Linked DNA regions of Homo sapiens: region 1 is linked to region 2. The links are contacts of gene promoters, found by promoter capture Hi-C in human tissues and cell types (Jung and others, 2019). All regions are on one chromosome and are shown on one strand. The core of a region is centred on a gene start or on the middle of the fragment in contact, and the rest is flanking DNA. Distances in the headings are between cores, read along the strand shown. Region 1 holds the start of LRP1 (LDL receptor related protein 1). Region 2 holds the start of RPL41 (ribosomal protein L41).

Evidence for each region. The method cuts DNA at HindIII sites, captures the fragments that hold promoters and counts their contacts. A contact is called where the count stands out against the background at its distance.
Region 1: a contact is called between the fragment with the promoter of LRP1 here and the fragment with the promoter of RPL41 in region 2, in 1 of the 25 tissues and cell types used here (thymus).

What each region holds. Positions count from the first base shown.
Region 1 is chr12:57,124,560-57,130,809 of GRCh38, forward strand. LRP1 (LDL receptor related protein 1) reads left to right here and starts at 3,924. Exons shown (of 89, transcript NM_002332.3): 1 at 3,924-4,472. The coding sequence starts at 4,406. RefSeq lists an enhancer at 2,931-3,584. The HindIII fragment of the contact is 3,919 bases long and covers 2,983-6,250 here.
Region 2 is chr12:56,112,694-56,119,650 of GRCh38, forward strand. RPL41 (ribosomal protein L41) reads left to right here and starts at 3,940. Exons shown (of 3, transcript NM_001035267.2): 1 at 3,940-4,106; 2 at 4,496-4,518; 3 at 4,789-5,274. The coding sequence starts at 4,095. The coding sequence ends at 4,831. It overlaps PA2G4 (proliferation-associated 2G4), which reads left to right. Exons shown (of 13, transcript NM_006191.3): 13 at 130-1,217. The coding sequence ends at 195. It overlaps ZC3H10 (zinc finger CCCH-type containing 10), which reads left to right and starts at 5,573. Exons shown (of 3, transcript NM_032786.3): 1 at 5,573-5,625; 2 at 6,395-6,458. RefSeq lists an enhancer at 3,532-3,581 and a silencer at 5,248-5,297. The HindIII fragment of the contact is 6,838 bases long and covers 1-5,367 here.

The DNA.
Region 1 (6,250 bases), core at 2,674-5,173, 1.0 Mb after region 2:
CGACCCGAAAAAAGAGATGCCCTTTACCCACACTAGCTTCTTTGCCCTCATCACCATTCCAGGTATCAATCATGAATTTCAGAGAATTCCTCCATGATTCCCTACTATTATGGTTATAATCTCAACCCAAGGATTTGAAGATGCCTCTTAAGAACAGATGTGGGGAGGAAGAGAAGGCACTGAGGCAGAGAGGATTAAACAATGAATGCTATAAGAGAAATAGAGGGAAGAAGATGCTTGAAGTCACATCCTGTTCCAGGAAAGGCAACTCTAGTCCTAACATTCCTTTCACCAATCAAGAGCCTCTCACGCTGGGTGGAAACGAAGAAGAAAAAGACATGGTCCCTGCCCTCAAGGAGTATATAGTCTAGTGGTGGATACAGAGCCCACAAAATAAAGTGCTAAACTCTGGATACTGAAGCTTTCCTGAATACAAGTTTGGAACAGGAGAGATAGGCAGAGCGAGAATAACAGGAGGGCTTTTCTGAGGAGGGTAGAGGAGCAGGGGAACTGTATCATTAATGGCTCAGATAGAAATATGCATTCTCAGCAGGGTGAGGTGGCTCACACCTGTAATCACAGCACTTTGGGAGGCCAAGGTGCATGGATCACCTGAGGTCAGGAGTTTAAGACCAGCCTGGCCAACATGGAGAAATCCCATCTCTACTAAAAACACAAAAATGAGCCAGGCATGGTGGTGGGTGCCTGTAATCTCAACTATTCGGGAGGCTGAGGCAGGAGAATCGCTTGAACCTGGGAGGTGGAGGTTGCAGTGAGCTGAGATCACACCACTGCACTCCAGCCTGGGCAACAAGAGTGCAACTCCATCTCAAAAAAAAAAAAGAAAGAAAGAAAGAAAGAAAGACATAAATATGCATTCTCTCACCTTACAGACATACCCTCAGCAGTTCACCTGCTGGAAATAACCCAAGTGCCCAACAATCCCAACAAACTGTGGAACATCCAAGCAAGGAGATTCCAAGTAGCCAAGATCAAAGGGTGAGCTAAATGCGTTCATACGGTATGGAAAGGGATCAAGCTAAGTTAATTGAAAAAAAGGCAAGTTACAGAACACTATATATCATATGAGTTTCTTTATAGTTTTAAAGGATATTCACTTATATTTGTATGTTACTGTTTTATTTATTTATTTATTTGAGACAGGGTCTCCCTCTGTTGCTCAGGCTGGAGTGCAGTGGCACGATCTCGGCTCACCACAACCTCCACCTCCTGGGTTCAAGCGATTCTCGTGCCTCAGCCTCCCCAGTAGCTGGGATTACAGGTATGCGTCACGATACGTGGCTCATTTTTGTATTTTTAGTAGATATGGGGTTCCGCCATGTTGGCCAGTGTGGTCTCGAACTCCTGAAAAGTGATCCTCCCACCTTCGTCTCCCAAAGTGTTGGGATTACAGGCATGAGCCACCACGCCTGGCCTGTATGTTACTGTTTTAAAAACTCTCCTGGCCGGGCACGGTGGCTCACGCCTGTAATCCCAGCACTTTGGGAGGCTGAGGAGGCCAGATCACGTGGTCAGAAGTTCGAGACCAGCCTAGCCAACATCGTGAAACCCCATCTCTACCAAAAATACAAAAAAAATTAGCTGGGTATAGTGGCGTGTGCCTGTAATCCCAGCTACTTGGGAGGTCAAGGCAGAAGAATCGCCGAACCCGGGAGGCAGAGGTTGTAGTGAGCCGAGATTAGGCCACTGCACTCCAACCTGGGCAACGGGGCAAGACTCCGTCTTGGGCGGGGGGGAAACCTCTGCTGGTAGGGGAGACCTGAAGAACTGTTAGTAGAAGTTACTCTGAGGGTGCAGCTGAAAAATGGGGGTGTGGAGAGCATCAAGTTTCCTTTTACTTTTTACCTTCCTGTACTTTTTTTAACCACTAGGTATTATCTTTTCTTTCTTTCTTTTTTTTTTAACAATATAAAGTTAATAAAAATACACATTCACATTCAGGAGACAGCAGGGGATGGGAGGTTGCAAGTGAGAAGTGCATGCTGACTGAGGCCAGGTTTTGGAAAGCCATGACTGAAGAGGAGTTCACATTTGACTGGTCTATAGACACCCACTAGAGGTTCCCCAGCAAGGAAGAGACACCGGGAAAGCAGTTTTTGGAAGATTCACCTGACAGATGGGTAGGGGGAGGGAGGAAAGCCCCTTCAAGCCCTCAGGCTACATGTGGTTGCTCCAGATACCGTTTTCCTCTCAAAGCTGTCAAGCTGTCTAAAGTCTGTTTCGACCTGATTTCACTTGGATCCCAATACTGGGAGGGGCCCTGGGAGGAACCTCGTAGGCATTTGGTGAGTCCGCATAGTGCGTCTCACATTGTGTTGGGCCATGGGAGCTGGATAAAAGGAGAAATAAGACCCCGTTCCTGCCTGGAGCAACTCTCTGGCAGTGGAAATGGAGGAAATCTGAGATATACTTCAGAGGAAAAAAATGACAAGCCTGGAGCACAGGCTGGCAAGATTGGATATAGGAAGGAAAGGCCCCCTTGAGTTGGCATAAAGTCTGAGGTTTCTAGCCCAGGAGACTAAAGGCAGGTGGCCACCGCGCTGAGCAAAGCCGGCTGGAAGAAGCTAAAGGTTGAGCTCACTGTCATTAGGAGGCAAGTCCTTCGTGCTGCTCCTGTTTCTGCCAAGGACAGACTGGAGTGGGGACTTTTCCGTAACTAGAACGTAAAAGGGGGAACAGTCCCTCCTCTCCAGCGTCAATTTTTGGCAGCCGACGTCGTCTGCCCCGCTCCTTGAACTCTGACATGCAGACACCTAGAAAGTCAGACACTAAGGTAACAGCCATAAAACGCCGCCCAGAAGGGGGCAGTGACCAAAAGCACGTTCACTGGCCCCTGGGAACCGCCTGGCGCCTGCCTTCTGCAAAGTATCATTCCCGTGTGGGCTGAGCCTGGGGACAAAGGTCCGGCGCTCAGCAGACACCTCCTTGGAACCCGAGGCCTGGAAACGAAGGTCCAGAGTCCCTCATCTTATTCCAAATCCTGGCGCTCGGAATCTAAAACCCTAACTTGATGGCAAGCCAGTCAGAAGGTATTAAAAAAAAAAAAAAAAAAAAAAACAGAAAAATAAATGAGCCCCGACTTCTTGGGCGAAAGGGGGTGGCCTTTCCTCAACCCCACCCGCTGGTGACTCACCTCCCTCCAAACCAGGGCCTGCCCCTCCCGCGCCTAGGGCTGGGCGAGCAGGGCGGGCGGGTACTAAGGTGGGCTCCATCCCCGAGCCCCACGCGGGCGGACAAGCTCCGGCGTGTCCCCTCGGGTGTCCCTGTTTACTCCGAGCCCGGGAGCGAGGTGGGGGCGGGTCCTCGCGGTCCCTCCCCAACCCCGCCCCCTCCTTCGCAGGCCCCAATCCCAGTCCGGTCTTCCAAAGTCTCCAAATCAAAGCTCAGCCTTTCCCTGCACCTTCCCCGCGGACTGGCGGTCCCTGTCCCCACCCCGGGCAGAGGAGGCACCTTCAGGGTTCCCCTAGAAAATCGAGCCTCGGCCCAGACCACTGAGTCCCGGACGCCCCCGGAGGGAGCCTGAAATCCTAGAGTATGACACTGAGTTTCAAAGGGGAGCCGCTCAGCTCTCCGCCCACTGCCCAATCCCACCCTCGACCCCTTCTGCTCTCTGGAGCACCAGGGAGGAGGGCCCAGCCAGGGGAGAGGGCGCCCCAGGCCCCAAACTAGCCAGCGAGTCCCCGGGACCCTCACTCTTGGACCGCTTTCCAGAACTCCGAACCCTGTCGCGGGTCCGCGTCGCCCTCCCCCGGGCAGCGCGTCAAATCGGCGCATGCGCACTCACTGGATTGCCGCGTAGCTCTTTCTCCCCCCACCCACCAACCTTTTTTCTTTCCCCGCCCCTTCCCTCCCTCCCTCCTCAACCCGTCCCCTCCCTCTCCCCCATCAGCCCCCCCCTCGGCACTTCAGTCCGGGGAACAGCGGTGCGAGCTCCAGGCCCATGCACTGAGGAGGCGGAAACAAGGGGAGCCCCCAGAGCTCCATCAAGCCCCCTCCAAAGGCTCCCCTACCCGGTCCACGCCCCCCACCCCCCCTCCCCGCCTCCTCCCAATTGTGCATTTTTGCAGCCGGAGGCGGCTCCGAGATGGGGCTGTGAGCTTCGCCCGGGGAGGGGGAAAGAGCAGCGAGGAGTGAAGCGGGGGGGTGGGGTGAAGGGTTTGGATTTCGGGGCAGGGGGCGCACCCCCGTCAGCAGGCCCTCCCCAAGGGGCTCGGAACTCTACCTCTTCACCCACGCCCCTGGTGCGCTTTGCCGAAGGAAAGAATAAGAACAGAGAAGGAGGAGGGGGAAAGGAGGAAAAGGGGGACCCCCCAACTGGGGGGGGTGAAGGAGAGAAGTAGCAGGACCAGAGGGGAAGGGGCTGCTGCTTGCATCAGCCCACACCATGCTGACCCCGCCGTTGCTCCTGCTGCTGCCCCTGCTCTCAGCTCTGGTCGCGGCGGCTATCGACGGTGAGTGAGATTCCGCGTCCCCCTTGGACCCCTGGGGGCACCCTCTCCCCAGCCCCCACTCCTGCATACGGATGGGGAAGGGAGACGCGGGAGGGGGTGCCTTTTGTTATCCCAGTCCAGCTGACACAGCAGCGGCCCGACTGGGGGCGGGGATGGGGTCCGATTTGGGGGATGGGGGCCCTGGGCAAATGATGCTTCCGGGGCCCCCCAGCACAAACAAAGACCAGAGGCCTGGGTAGAGAGAAGAGGGCTCCCCATTTTTCTGATCCTGGGGAGGAGAGGCCTTCTTTTCCTATCTCTGTTCGGGGAGGGCCTCCGCCTCCCCTACATCCTCACAACCCCCCACCCCCCATCTGAATTGTGAAGGAATCCGGATTTGCAATGTTCGGCTGCAAAAGGGGGTGGGGGTGGGGGGGGTGGCTTTTGCACTGGCCTCTGTAGCTCGAAAGGGGAGCCAGGCCAGGGGTACCCTGCCGGGCAGAGGGCAGGCAGGCCCGGGAAGGCTGTGGGTGGGGAGAGGGAGGGCCCCCTGCTTGGGCGTGGAATCGACCCCAGAGCCCCGGCTGGAGGCCTGGGTGCTGAAGTAGGCTCTTCCCCCTCTCAGGGCCTCTGTCAGTAGCCTGGGGTAGGGCTGTGTTGGGGGGCAGAGAGGGGGAGCTCGCCATACTATGTGACTTTGAATTTTCCTTCTTAATTCCTGGGAGCTTTGAGATGAAAAAACGTCAGATGTCATCACTGGGGAAGGGGACTGGAGAATGGCCTGGAATGCTGGGGTAGGAGGGTGGGGGAGGCTGCCTTCTTCCTGACTTCTGGCTTCATCACAGTTTGGATTGGAAGGAGAGTTGGAGGTTGGATGGGGATTATGGCTGTGCCCCCACACTCCTTTAGTAAATCTGTTTATTCCCTGCACCCCTCCAAGCCCAAAACCCCATACACACACACTTTGTATATTGCAGAGTTAGGCTTAGGCTAGAACTGCATCCTTTTGGGGAAATGGGGTGCCTCTCTTCCCTTTTTTTGTCAGCTGTTTTTTTCTCCTACTTGTGAGTCACTGGTTCAAGTCTTGCCCAAGCTTTAAGCATTAAGCTGGGGTCATGGGGTTGGGCTGGGCTAGGTCCCTGATTTGAGAAGGGGTGGGATCTCATCCCCTCCTGTCATCTTAGCCCTCTCATCCAAAGACAAAACTGGGCTGGATACCATCATACACCCCCTCCTCTGTCTTGCCAGATTGGGATTGGGAAAGTTTTTCTCTGAAACCAGATTATCTCCCTCCCTCTCCCTAACTTGCTTCAATTGGGGGAGGAGACTTACAGGGTCAGGAAGCAGCTGTGTCCCCAAAAAACATATTTAGTGTCCCTCAGTTGTGCCATCTTGGGGACTCTCTACCCCCCACCCCCACCCCACCAATTAGCTGCCCCGGAGGAGGAGAGGGGCTTTTCCTGAATATCCTCCAGATGCCGCACAGCCGGCTTCTGCCTATAACTCCTGTCATTATCATGTGTTTTTCTCTTGTTCTCAGCCCTGTGAGGTGAGAAGGGAAATCGAGGCAGGGAGATTGGGGTTGCAGCCGCTTCTGGGAGGAATAGAAAAAAAATTTGAGAGAGAGAGAGACCCATCAGGAGCCCCTTGAAGGAGGGTGGCTAGAGTTAGGCAGAAGCAAGAGGGTTTCTGTGGAGAGCAGGGAAGGTCAGGAAGGGACCCCAGATAGCATCACTCCCAGGGCTCTAAAGGAGTTCTATTTGCCACACCAAGTTAGTGGAAGAGAGAGACTGGACATG
Region 2 (6,957 bases), core at 2,690-5,189:
CACTGCACTCCAGCCTGGAAAACAGAGTGAGACTGTCTCAGAAAAAAAAATACTTTTATCTCTGGTCCCAGACATCCCCAAGTAGTTAGAAACTGACAGGTCTTCTCCCTCTCCTTTTCTTGCATATAGGCCTCCAAGACTGCAGAGAATGCCACCAGTGGGGAAACATTAGAAGAAAATGAAGCTGGGGACTGAGGTGGGTCCCATCTCCCCAGCTTGCTGCTCCTGCCTCATCCCCTTCCCACCAAACCCCAGACTCTGTGAAGTGCAGTTCTTCTCCACCTAGGACCGCCAGCAGAGCGGGGGGATCTCCCTGCCCCCACCCCAGTTCCCCAACCCACTCCCTTCCAACAACAACCAGCTCCAACTGACTCTGGTCTTGGGAGGTGAGGCTTCCCAACCACGGAAGACTACTTTAAATGAAAAAAAGAAATTGAATAATAAAATCAGGAGTCAAAATTCATCGTCTTCAAGCCCCTCTTTCTAGCCTTTTCTACTACTCTCTGCTTGGTCAAGGTTTGTGCCCCACTACAGAACAGGGCTAAATTAGCCACCACCACTGAAAACTCAGCCGAATTTTTTTATACCACTCTGATGTCAGCATTTTTTCCATCTGTTTGGGGCTTTTTCCTCTTTTTTCCATTCTCCCCAAATATTTTATCTGGCTTCAAAATTAAGAGGATTATTTTTCAGATTGTTTTTATTCAGTGTGGCCGATTCCTCATCTGATTCAGGCTGTCCAGTCAGGCCCCTCCCATTTTAGGAGCTGGAGCCTTCATTTATGAAGAGATTCTCATCTATGAAATGGATCCTCATTTGTAAATCTTTTTTCTTCCATTTTCACAAAGCTGTAAAGAAATAATCCATCTCAACCTTACCCTTTTTCTCTGGAGTCAGTGGGGTCTTTCCTCGCTCCATCTTACACAGACCTGAGCTGGAAGCTCAACTGGTTTTGTTCCCTGTTTGAAATATTGTGATCTCCCTCCCATGAAAGAAAAACCAAGAACCAGAGGCGTAGACTGACTGAAGACACAACTCCTGGCTTTCTGAAGCTATGGACTTGGATTGGATTGCTGGGGGTTTGTAGAGAAAGGTGACAAATTTCAGTACCTCTGGCATGCTGTCCCAGGAAACTAGGGCTCCCACTAACTTATGAGGTTTTTAAACACATTGAAAATGACATGACATTAAAATAAATTTGGATTTGCTCATAATGATGTGCTTTGTATGCTGCTCTTGTTTGATGGAGGTGGGGAGAATGTCAGTTGAAGTGGTATTGGAACTGTTCCTCCACAGTGCCATGCTCTACCTTCCCAAAACGAGGAATGTCTTGACTTGCAGAAGACACAAATCTTAGAATCTTTGATGATATAGTAATCTGCTGGAGTTGGGTGGTGTAATTTTCTAAGTAGAAACAGTCCTCACTGCTAAGATTTGTTTGGGGCTAGGACACAATGTCTACTGCAAAAACAGTACTGCAAGTGTTTATCTTGAATTCAAGAAGCCAGGAAGAATGGTACACTAGTTTTCAGGGCCAGACTAAGGTCAGATGGGTAATTAGTTTATCTTACTACATGTCAGGAATTGCTAAACTAGAGATACTACAAGTGAACAGAACTGAACACAGGTCAAATGTGTAATGATGTATATCTACCATTAAAATAGAGTAGTTTTAGTGCCCTAAAAATCCTCTGTGTTTTGCCTGTTCATCTCTCTCTCCTTGCTTACGCATTTGTCCAAAGGCAAAGAATGTACAATGCCAATGCCAAGAGTGAACCCTAGTGTAAACTAAACTATGGATTTGGGGTGATAATGGTATATCAACGTAGGTTCTATTGTTAACAAATGTACCACTCTGGCAGGGTGGAGTGATGTTTATAAAGGGGGAGGCTATATGTGTGGGAAATGTCTATACCTTTCTCAATTTTGCTGTGAACCTAAAACTGTTCTAAAAAATTAAGTCTATTAAAAAAAGAAAAAAACAGCCAAGTGCGGTGGCTTATACCTGTAATTCCAGCACTTTGGGAGGCCGACGCAGGCAGATCACCTGAGGTCAGGAGATCAAGACCAGCCTGGCCAACATGGTGAAACCCCATCTCTACTAAAAATATAAAAAGCCAGGCTTAGTGGCGGGCGCCTGTAATCCCAGCTACTTGGGAGGCTGAGGCAGGAGAATCGCTTGAACCCAGGAGGCGGAGGTTGCAGTGAGCCAAGATCGCGCCACTGCACTCCAGCCTGGGTGACAGGAGTGAGATTCCATTCCGTATCAAAAACAAGCAAACAAAATTTCCCTCAAAGAGCTTATAAACTAGTTGGCAATCATCAGTTGAAATCTTGGTGGAACTGATACAAAATAATTCTGCTAGGATTTTTTTTGTTTCAAAAAAATTGTCATATATATTTGGGTGGTGACAATACTACAACTACTTAGAAGGAACCTAATTTTAAAAACGTTTTTCAGGGATTGAAAGTGAAATGCTATCCTGGAATATAATAAAGGGAAACCACAAAAAAAGAGGGATTGTAACAATCACATACAAAATGTTACAGTATTTTAAAACTGTAAGATGAAGTCTCTATAGGGAAAGGGTTCTTTTTCATCCCCCATTAACTCAAAAGTTTCCTGTAGCCAAATCTTAGGGGATCTGGTTGTTTTCCAGTGCTTCTCACCTGAGCATACAATCAAACTGGGAAGTTCTTTATCTTAACACCAAATGTCATACTTTCCCTAGATTTAGGTAATTTTCTCCCTATGTCCGTTGGTTCGCTCTTCACCCCTAGAGAATCACTGCATAGGTCACTGCAGCCTCGACTTCCTGGGCTCGAGATTCCCCCACCTCAGCCTCCCAAAGCGCTGGGATTACAGGCATGAGCCACCGTGCCCAGCCCGCTGACGTATTTTCTGAACAAATGATGCATTGTAGCCAGGAATCTCTAGTGATATTTTGCTTCGGGCATCGTGGGGGAAGACCATAATCAGCTATTTTATTCTTGAAATTTAGGAAAAATAATTGCTCTATCTTAAACAGTGAGAAAATATTTTTTGAAGTATGGCAGCTTTCCCGAATCCCCACTTTATATCTTCCTATGTTCTGAAATCTTAGGACCTTCGATGGTTCCGGAATCGAATCACCCTGCAGCAATTTATTTTAGAAAATAAGGCAAACCGGCTGGGCGCGGTGGTTCATGCTTGTAATCCCAGCACTTTGAGAGGCCGAGGCGGGCGGATCGCTTGAGCTCAGGAGTTCGAGACCAGCCTGGGCAACACAGCGAAACCTCGTCTCTACTAAAAATACAAAAATTAGCCAAGTGGCGCGCGCCTGTTGTCCCAGCTGCTCGGGAAGCTGAGGCGGGAGAATCGCTTGTATTCAGGAGGCGGAAATTGCGGTGAGCCGAGATCGCGTCACTGCACTCCAGCCTGGGTGACACAGTGAGATCCTGTCTCAAAAAAGAAAAAAAGAAAGAAAGAAAGAAAAGAAAGAAAGAAAGAAAGAAAGAAAGAAAGAAAGAAAGAAAGAAAGAAAGAAAGAAAGAAAAGAAGGCAAACCAGTAAAACAAGAATTTCTGTACAGTCCGCGCCTATCCATAGCAAAATGGAGGACTTCTCCAGGGAACTGCAACTCCCAAGAAGCAATGCGAGGGAAGGTGGCGGTCACTATTTTTTCCCCGTCTGCACCTCTAGGTCCAATATTGGAAATAGGTGCTGACGTTTAAATAACACAGCGTCCTCATACTAAATCTGGGGGGGAACTGGTAACTCGAAAACCAAATACTCGGTCTTCCGAAAGAACTAACTCAACCTACCCTTCTACAAGAGGGTCCGAAAACCACTGTTACGCCCATTGGGTAGCCCCGCCCTTGGGGGGGGCAAAGGGCGTGAAAGCGGAAGTGACGACACCCGGCGCTCCATTAAATAGCCGTAGACGGAACTTCGCCTTTCTCTCGGCCTTAGCGCCATTTTTTTGGGTGAGTGTTTTTTGGTTCCTGCGTTGGGATTCCGTGTACAATCCATAGACATCTGACCTCGGCACTTAGCATCATCACAGCAAACTAACTGTAGCCTTTCTCTCTTTCCCTGTAGAAACCTCTGCGCCATGAGAGCCAAGGTGAGCGGTTCCTGGTAGTAAGCTTGGGAGGTAGGAGTTGGCGAGTAGTAGCGAGGAGACGAAGGCAAGTCCGCCATACCTCCTGAACTACTGGGTTTCAAGGGTGCCCAAGAGCTGGTGGGAGAGAGAAGGTAGTTTGTGAGAGAGCTAGCGGTTAAGTGCTATGGGTAGAGAGGGTGGGCTTAGAAAAGGGTGGAATTCTGATCTTATGTTGGGAGGGTGTCCAAGTTACTGATGTAGTTGTTACGACCAATCTTTCATACTTCTTGGTTAAGAATCTGTCCGGTTCTAAAGAGTGCATTTCATATCCTTGCTAAGCCTACTAATAAGCTTCATCCCTTTTTTTTTTTTTTTTTTTTAATTATCTGCTGCTTGTGATCGGTTGCTAGTGGAGGAAGAAGCGAATGCGCAGGTACGTTGAGACTTTGCCAGCCCAGGAGGAGGGAAGTTCCTTGGACAAAACTTAGGAGAAACATTTGGTTTGGAAATCTTAAAAGATCTTTAGGAGAAAAACGTTTGAGTGTTTTCTCCCTGGAGCCAGGATTTAACAGAACAGAGAACGATAGAACCGTAGTGCTTGTTCATTTTACCACCTCATTCTTTATGTGGACGTTTGATTTAATGTGGGAGGGAAAGGCAACTCTGGTTTGAGGTGTATTCCATTCCTGTGTCTGCTTTTCAGGCTGAAGCGCAAAAGAAGAAAGATGAGGCAGAGGTCCAAGTAAACCGCTAGCTTGTTGCACCGTGGAGGCCACAGGAGCAGAAACATGGAATGCCAGACGCTGGGGATGCTGGTACAAGTTGTGGGACTGCATGCTACTGTCTAGAGCTTGTCTCAATGGATCTAGAACTTCATCGCCCTCTGATCGCCGATCACCTCTGAGACCCACCTTGCTCATAAACAAAATGCCCATGTTGGTCCTCTGCCCTGGACCTGTGACATTCTGGACTATTTCTGTGTTTATTTGTGGCCGAGTGTAACAACCATATAATAAATCACCTCTTCCGCTGTTTTAGCTGAAGAATTAAATCATCTTGTCTATTATGTTTTTTATGGTTCCATCGGGTGGGGGTTTTCTGTCATTAGAGTTTGCCCTGTCACTACCTGTGCTATGGAGGGTATCAAAGCTATAAAGGCAACAGCCCGGGTTACGTGGTGTGGTTTGCATCTCGCTGGAGTTGGATGGGATATGGTACGTCTCTGGAGGCAGGTTTTAGGTTTCGCGGGTTATTAGGGGCCAATGCTGGTACCGCCCCTTTCCAGGAGGGCTGCCTTGGCGACTACCGCTTAGACCATGTCGTGCCTTTGGGTTGGGTTGCCATAGTGACACGCAAAGCGTGCTGGGAACGCCCTGCGGCATGTCGCACGCGTACTTCATACACCATAGAGTATGGTTCCGGGTCTGCTGGCTAGAGCGTCACTTCTTCCGCAGGAAGCGGAAGAGCGATCGGGTAGGCGGCTCTTTGTCGAAGCTAGAGGACCGGCAGGCGGCAGCAGCAACTACGGCGGCGGCGGCAGGTGAGGGAGGCGGGAGACTTAGGTGGAGGCCGCGCCCGGAGGGGAGGAGTCGGGGCCGGCCCAGCGGCTGGGCTCGGCCAGGCCACAGAAGGCCCCCCAGAACCGAGCTGGCTCGTCCTCACACCCCAGGGCAGTGCCCCTTTTCTGAGTGACCCCGCATCGCGAGCAAACGCCAGCTTCGTGACGTCACAACCCTGCCCATCCCCTCAGCTTGATGACACCTGGAGCTCCAGCTCCCCGCTTCACTTCGCGCGCCCTTAGTGTCCCATTCACGTAGCCCACGGCTGAGCGCCGGCGGCACTGCACGGAACCTGCCAAGCTAGAAGACTTGCTGCGGGAAAACTCCTAGGACTTCTTTCGCAAACTCTAGGGTGTTGGGAAGCGTCACAATCACTGCCTTCAAGTCTAATCGGCCATCCCAATGCACTGTCAGACGCTGCCTTTTTGAGGTTCCTCACTAGCCATTACTAACTCCAGCCCTTGGCGGTGCTCTGACCCTCACATCCTCTTTCATCTTGAGGCAGGGCGCCCCGCACTCTTTGTTCACTCAGGGCTGGTTTTCCAACCCCTCCTCCCAGTCCCTCCGAATTAGTTTTACTCTTCTTACTGGCAACTTCTCCCTTGGACAGGTGAAGTTCAGTTTGAACCCTGAGGAAATCCTCACGTTCTCGAAGCTTTGCCGTTTTGTCAGATTTCTTGTGACAACCACCCCATAGTCCTCCACTCTTACTCCTTCTTCCACCCAAGTCTCTGTTTTTTTCCTGCTCAGAACCCAGCAGTGATGTGGAGGTGGAGACCCACAGGAGCCCCGGACTTCACCTGAGCTACCTCAGGTATCAATTCTGGGAGAGTGGGGTGGGGAGGAGCATCATAACTAATTATCTGCTGCTGGTGCGACTTGCAACGTGAGCCAGGCTTGGATAGATGGCATTTGTACTTCACCTGGTCATTCCCCTTTACTAAAAGTTTGTATCTTCTTTTACCACTTCTTTCCTTGATTGCTTCTATTATTCTGGGACTACCTCTCTTTAGAGGAGGAGGACCCTCTTACAGATTCTCTTGTAACTCTGGCCTCTGGTTTGGTTAGTTCATTTTAGGGAGATCTGAAGGCAAAGTCACAGTAGTGGGGTGGGGGTAGGTCAAGGCCAAAGGAATTAGGAAAGATTCCCTTATTCTCAAAGGGAACAATATGAAGTTTTCCTATTTCAGCAGCAGGGGGAGCCTGAACACCGCATAGGAAAGGCTTGGGAGGTCAGACACGTGGTAGCAGGGACTCCAGGTCTTACTGGGGGTGGAGAGAGGGGAGGGCTAGAACCAGGGCAGTGGACTGAC